3 separate regions of the Homo sapiens genome follow, and regions 1 and 2 are each linked to region 3. Evidence: promoter capture Hi-C in 16 types of primary human blood cells and fetal thymus (Javierre and others, 2016). All regions are on one chromosome and are shown on one strand. Each heading gives the region's core, a stretch centred on a gene start or on the middle of the fragment in contact. The rest is flanking DNA. Distances are from core to core; before and after follow the strand shown. Region 1 holds the start of LINC02288 (long intergenic non-protein coding RNA 2288). Region 2 holds the start of NUMB (NUMB endocytic adaptor protein). Region 3 holds the start of TMED10 (transmembrane p24 trafficking protein 10).

The links. Contacts are between HindIII fragments. The CHiCAGO score rates a contact against its expected background, and 5 or more counts as called.
Region 1: a contact is called between a fragment that was not itself captured here and the fragment with the promoter of TMED10 in region 3, in 2 of 17 cell types (M1 macrophages and M0 macrophages). The highest score is 5.2, in M1 macrophages.
Region 2: a contact is called between a fragment that was not itself captured here and the fragment with the promoter of TMED10 in region 3, in 1 of 17 cell types (fetal thymus). The highest score is 9.2, in fetal thymus.

What each region holds. Positions count from the first base shown.
Region 1 is chr14:77,040,764-77,044,495 of GRCh38, forward strand. LINC02288 (long intergenic non-protein coding RNA 2288) reads left to right here and starts at 286. Exons shown (of 4, transcript NR_110554.1): 1 at 286-514. RefSeq lists enhancers at 1-489, 1-3,732. The HindIII fragment of the contact is 1,064 bases long and covers 1,651-2,714 here.
Region 2 is chr14:73,455,078-73,459,031 of GRCh38, forward strand. It overlaps NUMB (NUMB endocytic adaptor protein), which reads right to left and starts at 3,469. Exons shown (of 13, transcript NM_001005743.2): 1 at 3,416-3,469. RefSeq lists silencers at 3,193-3,322, 3,333-3,422, 3,613-3,812 and an enhancer at 3,798-3,954. The HindIII fragment of the contact is 3,759 bases long and covers 1-3,662 here.
Region 3 is chr14:75,174,955-75,178,751 of GRCh38, forward strand. TMED10 (transmembrane p24 trafficking protein 10) reads right to left here and starts at 1,658. Exons shown (of 5, transcript NM_006827.6): 1 at 1,401-1,658. The coding sequence starts at 1,625. RefSeq lists enhancers at 1,482-2,054, 1,569-1,808. The HindIII fragment of the contact is 2,239 bases long and covers 1-1,824 here.

The DNA.
Region 1 (3,732 bases), core at 933-3,432, 1.9 Mb after region 3:
GCCAGCCCGGAGCACAGGTGTCAGCGCCGTCCTTGGGTGGGTCACCATCCTCCCGCTCTCCTCTTTCACACCCCCAGCTTTCTTCCTGCTCCCTGGGGGCTTTCACAAAGCGGTATTTTTAATAGAGGCTTTTCAGCAAGCTCAAGTGTAAGTCTTTGAGTCATCAAAACCCGGATGTAAACACAGCAGCCCTGCATTCTGCACAGTTTGCGTGTATTTTATCTTTTTAATAATATTTAGCTGGCAACTTAAAACTGCAAGGATGCCAGATATTTTAGCCAGCCACTTACATCATGCAGCATCCATCTTGGGGAGAGTGGTGGCGGGTCCTTTCCTTGTTCTCTTGCTCCCTGCCGCCTACCTGAGACCGCAGGAAATCTGGGTCTTTCTGAAGGCATCTTCTTGTGGTGTAGTCCCCTTGGAACCGCGGCCTTTAGAATGAACATGACATCACCTTGGGCAACAACGACAGAGGGTGTGTTCCTGTAGGAGACAAGACACGGGGAGATCCAAGGTGAAACAGATCTATCATTTACGCTGCGCCAATTTCAGGTGTGTGAGGGTGCACAGTCTGGATCATCAGCCCCCCATTTAGCACGAACTGCCGTTTGAAACACAGTCTGATTTAATGTACAGAAACAAAATAGCACATTCAGATTTGGTATATTTTCAGGCCTGTAATGCCAACACTCCGGGTGGCCTGTTTAATGGGGAAAAAATGAAATATTCCACTCCAGCCCAGGCCTATGGAAACCAAAGAGGTTTAGTGATTTATTTACATTGGGGGTAAAAACGGTGAGCAGTATTCCTTCTCGGCTCGCTACTTCCTGAAGGTTTCCTGAACCTAAACATTCGTTAACATCCCAGGAAGGGAACTTATTTTTCCTGTGGCTTTCAATATTTTCTGCTAAATATATTTCGGCACACTGTTTATCTTGGGCTTCAGCTTTCAGACCTTTATGCACTTTTAACACCTTGAGGCTGTTTCACTGAAAAATGGTGTATGTTAATTAAAGAGGACTTTATGTGCTGGGCATTAAGGCAGGGGGGATTTCTGTTTTGATCTGTCTGTATAATGAGGGGCTTCAGGATGAAACACAAGTCAGAGGCCTGTTAGCTTCGTGAAGCCCTTTTGACAAAGCGGGACCTTGAATGTGGGCCCTTGTATTCAAACACTTGAAGACCACAGAATGTTGAACTGAACGAAACATTTCTTCCTAAGTGCATGGTGAACATGGAGGCCAGGAGACGAGAAAGACTGAAAATGCCCCAAGTTCCTGGGGCTTAGCTGCAATTTCTTTGAACTTGACTGTCTCTGGGTGTCTGCTCGTGATTGTCACGGCAGCTCTGGCCAAGGCGATGCACTCTGTCTCGCTGGAATTTCCTGATTCCAAAGTAGCCCCTTCCAAATAAATAATCAACAAACGCCATCTGCTTCACCTTGCCAGCAGGCACAGAGCTGAAGGGTTAGCTAAAACCTACAATTTTTAGGAGCAGTAGGCTCTTGAGACATTTCAAGATAGGTTTCGACTTGGAATTAAACTAGAGTTAGAGGCAGAAATCAGGTGATTCAGAAAGCAACCCCCCCTCCCTCCCGCCAACTTCCCCAGACAGTCCAGGCAGCTGGGTTTTTGGCTCTCACAGCTGCTAAGCTTTGGCAAGCCAAAAGCATATTTCGTGGTGGTGATTCCTTTCCCAGGTTGACGGACATGTTTCTGTACTGAGCACAAGGCATGTTTCCTGACCGTGTGTGAATCAGAGGCTGCATTTTTATCCAGGGCTTCTGGTGACAGTTTTAAGCTGGATGAACAAAGCAGACCCTGACATGTCCCTGTCATCAAGGTCAAGAGATACAGAATCTATCCTAAATGTTCGCCACCTCTAGCCCAGATGTATTATATTTATTTATTTTTGTTTTGTTTTGTTTTTTGAGGCGGTGTCTTCCTCTGTCGCCCAGGCTGGAGTGCAGTGGGGCAGTCTCAGCTCACTGCAACCTCCGCCTCCCGGGTTCAAGCAATTCTCTTGCCTCAGCCTCCCGAGTAGCTGGGATTACAGGCACGTGCTATCATGCCTGGCTACTTTTTTTGTATTTTTAGTAGAGACAGGGTTTTGCCATGTTGGCCGGGCTGGTCTCGAACTCCTGACCTCAGGCGATCTGCCCTCCTCAGCTTCCCAAAGTTTCTGGGATTACAGGCATGAGCCACCACACCCGGCTATTTTTTTTTTAATCATGCCAAGAGCAGCCACCACCCCACAAGTCAATGGATGCCCATGTTCATGTGTCAGATGTTACCCTTCTCTCTCTCAGTGTTTTTGTAGTGTTTGCTTCTTTGTTGGCTTTGGTGAGAAGATTTACAAAAGCCATTTTGGACCCTTGAGTGCCTTTCCAGATCGAGGCAAGCTCCAAGATTCCAAACAGCCTTGACCTCGTCTGTGTCGCCCCATTATAGCAGGGATGATAACCGGAGGGGAGTCCTTGGTGTAGCCCCTCCATACCAGGGCCCGGAGAGCCAGCTTCCCAGAAATCCATGGATTAGGAAACTCTGTCGTGGGCCAGTTCAGGAGCGGCAGGGGGAACAACTCCCTTTTGTTTTGTTGTCTAGCATGTGACCAGAATGCTGCCAGCTAATTTTAACCCCACCAAAGTACTGCTGGGAAAAAAAAAAAAAAAACTATCTTGCATCTGGAGAGAGAAATGCTGTGGGCTGGATAAAAGCTTTTCAGCCTGTGTTCCTTCCTGTTTCAGTTTCCAAACTTGCATTATCGGTAACCTGAAAAATGATGAGTTTCACCAAATTCCTGGATGTTGTGCAAGAGGACAATGAGTCTATTTTGGGTGGTGTGAGTGTGTCTGGCATAGACACTGGGAACCATTGTTTTCAGGAGGGAGAATGTTTTGGGGTTTCCTGGTGCTTTCCTTATAGGGTCTCAAAGCCCCAAGGGGTACTGCTGGGGGGAGAAACCCTCCATGGCAACCATGGAGGCTGTGCTCTGCAAAAGACCTGGCTGAGAATTGGGTGGTTAGGCCAGTGGGTGGGGGTGAGGGGTGACGTGGCAGTGGTGGCTCCAGAGGTGTTAAAAGGTGCTCTGTAGGGAGTGTTTGAGGTAGAACGACTGGAGCAGGAAGAAGTGGGGAGAGAGAGATGCTTTCACTGTGGCTGGGCGGCCCCCTGGGACACAGGGCACCTCTTCTACTAATTCTCCATATCTGCTTTTAGCACCATGCGTGAATGGAGGATTATATGGAGTTCCCCACCCTGGATACTGGATTCTCAAAGCATACCTGTGGTGGTTCATTGTTGCTGTCTGGCTGGATGGCAGTTGTTGCTAGTGGAAAAGTCCAGAATCGCAAGACCCAGGAAATGAAATGGTTTGGGTGAGACAGCGTGTAGCTAGGCAGGTGCCGCTGACTGTTCTAGAACTAGATAGTAAGGTGGACTGCCGTTAACCTGAGTGTCCACAACGCAGTCTCGGAAGATAAGGTCAACACTGCAGCACTTGCTGCAACCTCAACCAGGAGAGCTTGGTGGCAGTTGTTCTGACAGCTGCAGAGGGCCTCAGCTGCCTAAAAAGCCATTTGCTCAGCCCTGCCCTGTCTGGCCAACTTCTGTGTATTTCAAGGATCCTCATGGGTCTCTGTGGCCCCCCTCTTTTCTGAGTCCTCAGGCAGACACCATCTTCGGAAGGGCAGGGAACCCCATGTTCTGCTTCTAACTGGCTGCTATAACCTGC
Region 2 (3,954 bases), core at 533-3,032, 1.7 Mb before region 3:
TATGCCTTGCAGTCTTCCAAATGAAAATAAAAATTTTAAGGAAATATAATCTGAAATAAAACTAAAAATTATTTTTGAGAGAGAAAAAAATAAACCAAAAATCCTGATGCAAAGCTATACCAACAGTTTCTTCACAATTTCATAAAACATTAATGAAGAGGTTACATAATCCCCTGGATTAAAGATTTTAAAGAAAGCTGCAAGGATCTCTTTCAGTTTTCAATACTGCTTCCTGTTCTTAACAGCCATAAAAACAGATCTAAATCAACTCCTAAATATAAACCATCTAGCTTTCAATGGAAGAAAAATCAAACCACGTACAGATAAAACATACATATTCTTTTTAAAAACACGCTGTAAATTACATTTAGGTTCCTCAAACAAGTTAAGTTTACAACATGTACCACATCCAGTTTATTCTCAAGGGAGAAAACCATTAAACAAAAGCTCCCTCTTAATAAATGATTTACTTTGTAGTTAAGCCTCTATCCCAGGTGCATTTTGCTGTCACATATTACCACTATTTCTTTTCTCTACAAAGACCTAGAAACTGTATATCTAGTTCCTTTAAAAATATCTGTATATGTTTTATATTAGTGTAAGGATAAGAAATACTTAATATTTTTACTCTCTAAAAAGGAAATATCTTTTCATTTTTCTCTTTTGCAGTGTTTCTTACTTTGTTTTTGCTTATTTTCTATACATGAAATTTTCTCAAGTCAGTCCATTTCAGTGTTGTTTACTGTCAATATGTCTGTGTATACTCAGGCTTTTACAAACAATGCTTTACGGTACAGTGATAAAAAAGAAAGGGTGAACAAGAGGGCACAAGTGAAACAAAAGCGGACAACATCTGAGAAACACCATTCAATTTCTCTGCCTCAGATTCCCTTAAGTTCTCATGCCAAAGATTCTCAATATCCAAAAAAGTTCCAGAGTCAGAGGCATAACACAATATGTGACAAGACAAACACAGGAGGAACCAAATCAGAAACTGAAGAAATTTAATGGAATATAATACTCCCAAAAAAACCTTTTTTTTTTTTTTTAAGATGGAGTTTCACTCTTGTTGCCCAGACTGGAATGCAATGGCATGATCTCGGCTCACTGCAACCTCCACCTCCGGGGTTCAAGCAATTCTCCAGCCTCAGCCTTCCAAGTAGCTGGGATTACAGGCACGCGCCACCACGCCCAGCTAATTTTGTATTTTTTTTAAAGATGGGGGTCTCACCATGTTGGTCAGGCTGATCTTGAACTCCTGACCTCAAGTGATCCGCCCGCCTTGGCCTCCCAAAGTGCTGGGATTATAGGCGTGAGCCACCGCACCCAGCTTTCAGACTTTTTTAACTGTAAGAAATATATTTTATCCTTTGGCCAGGAACTCAAAAAAAGAAATACACTTTACATTGTGACCTAGTACATACATGTAGGAGAAAAGTTTCCCAAAACAATACTTTTCCTTACCAAATGCAATGTCAGTTTATTCTGTTCTACATTTTATTTTCAATGCAGGTAAAAACTCACAACATTGATTTTATAAATTACTAATAAATCACAATCCACAGTTTGAAAAACACAGGCTAAAAATGAGTATCCTTTATAATAGGATCTTTTAGGCAATTTGCCTCTACCTGTCTCTTTAGCAGGTATTTTAAAGTTGCTACCATTATTACCGGTTTCATTAAAGTAAGTGGTTCTTAAAGTGTGGTCCTCTGACCAACGTGATCATCATTTGAGATAAATATAAATTATTGGGCCCCACCCCAGACCTACTGAAACCCCCAGGTGGGGCCAAGCAATCTACATTTTACCAAGCCCTCCAGGTGATTTTGATGCAAGCTAACATCTGCGAGCCAGGTCTTTACCTTCTATTTAAGAAGTCAGGTCTTTATCGTCTATTGAACAATCCAGTACACACGACTATGTGCCAGTCACTATCCTAAAAGCTCTACAAATACCAACTCACATGAAAAAAAAAACACCACCACCACCTTATAAAGTAGGAACTATTACTATTAGTATTCTGATGAGGAAACTGCACAGAAACTTAGCTAAGTGGTGGAACTAGAACTCAAAACTTCTTTTCACTTTAGCCGAGTATGCCTACCCTCTTTCTGATAAGTATTTACTTCTACTCCTTTAGTTCAGCTACTCCTCCCCTTTTCCCTCCCAAATTCCCCACCCTGTCAATGAACCTATTTCCTAATATTACTGCCATCATCCTAAAACAAATTTCTTTTCTAAAACAAGTCACTTAACCTTGCTTTTAGGAGCTTTGCTTTGGTCCTAGATGTCATCTTGATATTAATTACGAAACTGAAGTTTCTTCTATTTGTGAAGACCTGTGAACCTACATGGCTCCACTGTTAATTTCTCATATATCTACTGTCCTAGCCAGTTCCACGAAACCATTACTCTCTCCTCGGGCAACTTTCTTTCTCTACCTTATCCCCTCCTATAGGGATTCTCTCCCACCTCCGCCCATCTCCGTCCCATTTTGCATGACTCCTCTCCGACCGAGGGAACTTCCACTCCCCTGCTGGCTCCTCACCCCGGTCTCAAACGCGAGCCACTCCTCGAGGACTTCTTTCCTGGTCCCTTAGGGATCCTCAGAGCCGGAGCGGCCAGGCCAGTTGGGTCTCCCATCCCAGCTCAGCTATGGGGGCGCAGGGAGCTCCGGTTCTTCCCCCAGGCGGTGCAAGATCTCTACTCGTCCGACCCTCCGAAGACCTGCTGCTCCTCATCTCTCCAGGAGCCCCCTCCCTTGGACAGCCGCTTTTCTCAGGAGGGTCCCCAACCCCCTCCGAGCGTTTCCTCAGACGCCCCTACTTGGAGCAAGTCTGCTCCCTGTCACCCGGGACCCTGGCCACCCTCGGCCTTCCTACCTCCCTCGGACCGGGGCCACTCCCAGTTCCCCTGCCCCCCACCCCGCTCTCTCCTCACCGGCCGCTGCCGGGCTTCCCGGATTCCTTTTCTCCCTGGCACCCAAGCCGTCCTGGGTATTCCCAAGACACCCCGCCCTTGAAGCAGGTCGTTACAGGTCACCCCCTCTCTGGGACCCTGGCCGCTTCCGTTTCCTCAGATACCTACTCCTCACACAGTGGCCGCCGGTCAGCGCGCTAGACCGGAGCAGCTGGACGTCCCAAGGGACCTCCTGGCCTGACCCGCGCGGGTCCGGCCGTAGCCTACCTTCCTCGGGAGAACTCCGCAGCCAGAAGCCCAGCCCCTCTCCCCCTAGCCCAGTCAGCGCGAACTCGCCGCCGCCCCCGCCGCCTCCGCCCTGGCCCCGGCCCCGGCCCGGGCCCCGACCCGAAGTCCAGGCCCCCTTCCTCCGGCCTCCGCCTCCGGAGTGCTGAGCTGGAGATTCCGCCCCGCGACGGCCCCCAGATCTCTGACCCGCGTTACCGGCACTCACCTGCCGCTGCCCCCGACCAACTCAAGCGCCACTGCCTCTACCTCGGCCGCCAGTGGCCACCAAGCGCCACCACCTCCCCCATGACAACAGGCCCACCCTCTTTCATACTTCTAACCTATCCATTGGATAGTGGGGCGGCAGCTCTCCTCTCTGATTGGTTTAGTATACCCGCCCGTCATCGCTCTTTACCGCCCCTTTTCCTAAACCCGGTATTCGCCCCCGCCCGGACCTGGAGCGTCCTAGCCCAAGCTTTAGTTGTAATTGGTTGAGGGTTGGGCAATTCGAAGTTATGATAGGCTGCTAAAAGTGTCTGTTAAGCTAACTGGCAAGAGACGTGACGGTTAAGGTTGATTCACGCTTGTGCACAGTTTGGTTGCGCAGTAGAAAGCAAAGGAGGGGCAGACGCTCACATTCGTGGTTACCCGGGAAGGGTTAAGTCTTTGTTGTAGAGTTTTCTCTGTAAACTTTTCCACTTCTCCAGCTCACTTCCTGCAAGGAGAAGCTTATCTCTGCTAGCTTTATTCATAGGGGTAGTACTT
Region 3 (3,797 bases), core at 408-2,907:
GCTTGAAACCGGGAGGCAGAGGCTGCAGTGAGCCGAGATCGCGCCACAGCACTCCAGCCTGGACGACAGAGCAAGACTCCGTCTCAAAAAAAAAAAAAAAAAAAAAAAAAGTAAAAATGTTTCTATTTAGTATAACAAAAGCCCCATTGTGTTACAAAGAAAAAAAAAGACACTTTGCTTATTGTGAATGAATAAAATTACCTAAAATGCAACCAAATACTGACAGATATCAAATTATATTAATGTCTCAAAGACCAGGCCAGGCTACTCTTAGCTACAAAACAGAATCAAACTGGTATTATGGCAGTAGTTGTCACCATCCAAGAGCATAGTTGGTATTTACATAAAAGAGCCAAGTCCAGATTCTGGCATACCAAAGAAAAAGGACTAGAGACTGAGACCATTTTGTAACCAATAATCGACTTTAATCAACTACAGAAATTACAAATTTAAAACAAGGAAGGAATAAGGTTGCAGCGCTTTTCCCTCAACATACTTAACTACCAAACTAAGTAAGAATCTATTCCATCGCAAGGACAGAAAACCAAACACCGCATGTTCTCACTCATAGGTGGGAATTGAACAATGAGAACACTTGGACACAGGGTGGGGAACATCACACACCGGGGCCTGTCGTGGGGTGGGGGGAGGTGGGAGGGATAGCATTAGGAGACATACCTAATGTAAATGACGAGTTAATGGGTGCAGCACACCAACACGGCACATGTATACATATGTAACAAACCTGAAAGTTGTGCGCATGTACCCTAGAACTTAAAGTATAATAATAATTTTGAAAAAAAAAAAAGAATCTATTCCATCTGTGACACTTACTAGTTTATCCTACCTCTGAGTCTCAGTTTCCTCATTTGTAAAATGGGGCTAACAGTACCTACCTACTTCATAGGGTAGTGCATGAACCAAATGGTAATATATGCAAAGTAGCACAGTAACTGACACAGCAGATGCTCAATAAATAACATTTTATTAATCACGGTTAGCTCTGTCTCCTTTACTTTCCTGCAGGTATCGCGGTATCTTATGATGCCAATCCGTATAAATATTCAACACCCCAACATTTATTTGGAGAACCAAATTACGGTTCAATGTATCTGAGACCAAAACTGGTATAGGACGTTGACAACCGCCCCAGCTCAGGTGTCACCACATCCGCCAAAGCCTCGCAGCCCTTCTTGGGGTTCCCAGGCGTTGGTGACCCGCCCCGCCCCGCGACAGGCAACCAGCGGGGTGAGGGGGCGGGCTCCACCGCACGTCCTTTGCGCTCCCGGGAGGCCAGAACAACTCCCAGGCCTCCGCCGGCCCGACTCCCCCGAACCCGAGCCTCCCCTCGCCTAAGCCTGCCGTCTTCCCTCCCGGCCCCACGTCGCCCAATGCCGCACCTTGAGGTGGCTGCGCAGGCCGCCAGCGCCCCCAGACTGGTCGGAGATCTCGTACGCGCCAGTCACTAGCAGGTCCTTGTGAATCTCCTCACGGAGGCACTTGCGAGAGTTAATGGGCAGATGGAAGGAGATGGCAAGGACCAATCTGGGGCCGAGCAGGAACAAAAGCAGCAACGCTAACGGAAAAGGGCCGCGCCGGGCTGGTGGGCCAGACAAACCAGACATGGTGCTGGAGACTCGTTCACCACCGAAGGCCTCAACCGCGCCGGAACCGGGGGGACCCACGTGACTCACCTCTGACCTTCTGATGCCGTCCGCGCCATTTTGGAGACTGGCATGTAGAGAAAGACTCTATAGCGAATCTTTTGAAAAGGGAAGAAAGGATAGGTACCATGTCAAAACCGCAAGTTTAAGCAGTTAAAGAAGCTTTAATAGAATACTATTGCAACAGTTTTATTTTTGTTGAAGTTAGTGACTACTGAGTCGGCCATGGCAAGTATGGGCAGCCCTGGAAGTAATTCTCCTTTAATTTCCGAAAGATGTACCCACGAGTTTAAAGGCGAGTGACACCATAGCAACCAAGCCCCAATAGGAAACAGCCACAAGGCCCTTCGCTGGGCCCGCCCACCGGCCGCCTAGGCGCGAGGGCGGGGAATGAGGCTGTGTCTCCGGGGATGGGGCGGTTTGCAGGCACTCCCAAGCGCCTTTGACACCTTGATGACACCTGGGGCACTGAGACACTAGAGAGGAAAATTTCGAGGAAAGATTTCAACTTGGCTATTAGACAGTGTGGACCTTAGAGAAGAAGTTTTAGGGGTCACCTGATGAATGTGTGCCGGGCAGACATCCGGTTCATGTCCCATAGCAGGGTATTTGGGCTGGAGTAATTGTCTGGCTAACTGAATGTACATGGTATTATTATTATTATTATTATTATTATTATTATTATTATTTTAGCAAACATTGAATGTGTTCTAAGCTATATTCAAAATAAATTTGAATTTGGTATTTAAATTGAATAAAACAACATGTTTTGGTCCAGTCTCAGATGAACATAATTAAGGGGTTAGCAGATAAGCGTTGTCAGGGAAAGTGCGTATGTGTGTGTTTTAAGTTCACAAACACTTTAGGGATCAAATTAACTATTAACATTTGCAAATAGACAAGCAAATTGACACGGTAATAATTCATGCATTCATTCAATGGAGTACCTACTGTGTGCCAGACATTATGCTATGCATGTATGTCAACACGTTTATTGATTTAACAAACTATTACTGGGATACTAGCAAATATTCAGAGCTGAAGAATATATTAAAATAAACGGCCAGGCGCGGTGGCTCACACCTGTAATCCCAGCACTTTGGGAGGCTGAGGCGGGTGGATCACGAGGTCAGGAGTTCAAGACCAGCCTGGCCAAGATGGTGAAACCCCGTCTCTACTAAAAATACAAAAAAATTAGCTGGGCTTGGTGGCGGGCGCCTGTAATCCCAGCCACTCAGGAGGCTGAGGCAGAGAATTGCTTGAACCCGGGAGATGGAGGTTGCAGTGAGCTGAGATGGCGCCACTGCACTCCAGCCTGGGCGACGGAGTGAGACTTGTCTCAGAAAAGAAAGAAGGAAAGAAAGAAAATGGAATTGCTCCTTGGCCTTTTGGCTAACATCAAGTGTAGAAAATAAACGTGGAAGACACAATAGCCCATGTTGGGAATCATTACCTACTTTGATTAACGTTTATTGAGCATCTTCAGAAATATCCAGAAGATGGACTGTCTGCCCTTAGTAATGTACATGATTGGTGTTTTTTTTTTTTAAACTTAGTCCATTTAGTTATTTTCCTAGAAATGAAATCCCACAGACAAAACAAGAACAAACAAAGGAGCTGTAAAGCATTTAAAATTTTGACAAATGCCATACAATAATTATTTTATGAGGTGTCCACTTAGGAGCATTTAGTTGGATTGTTGTATCACTGATCTAAGATAAGATTGGTAGTCCACACAGTACATCCTGATAATTTGCATTGGCCTTTTCCCTGCCAATGCAGGGAATCAGTATAAGCAGTTATCTAATTCATTGTCTACTTGCATTCCTGAGGCTCTGCTGACCAATAGCAAGAGATCTCAACCCATGAAAAAACTGTGTATGTGTTTCCTTTAAATTTCCATCTTACATTTACATAATAGATAATGCAATTTAAAATATTTTCACATATCATAATGATCTCCTCTGACATTTTCAAAAACCCTGTGAAATAGTCTGGACAATCTGTTCATTTTACAGATGAGGAAACCGAGGTTCTGAGAGGCCAAATAATTATACTGTTAAAGAAAAAATACTTCATGACATTTGTTAAAGAACTGTAAAGCAGGCCAGAGGCGGTGGCTCACACCTGTAC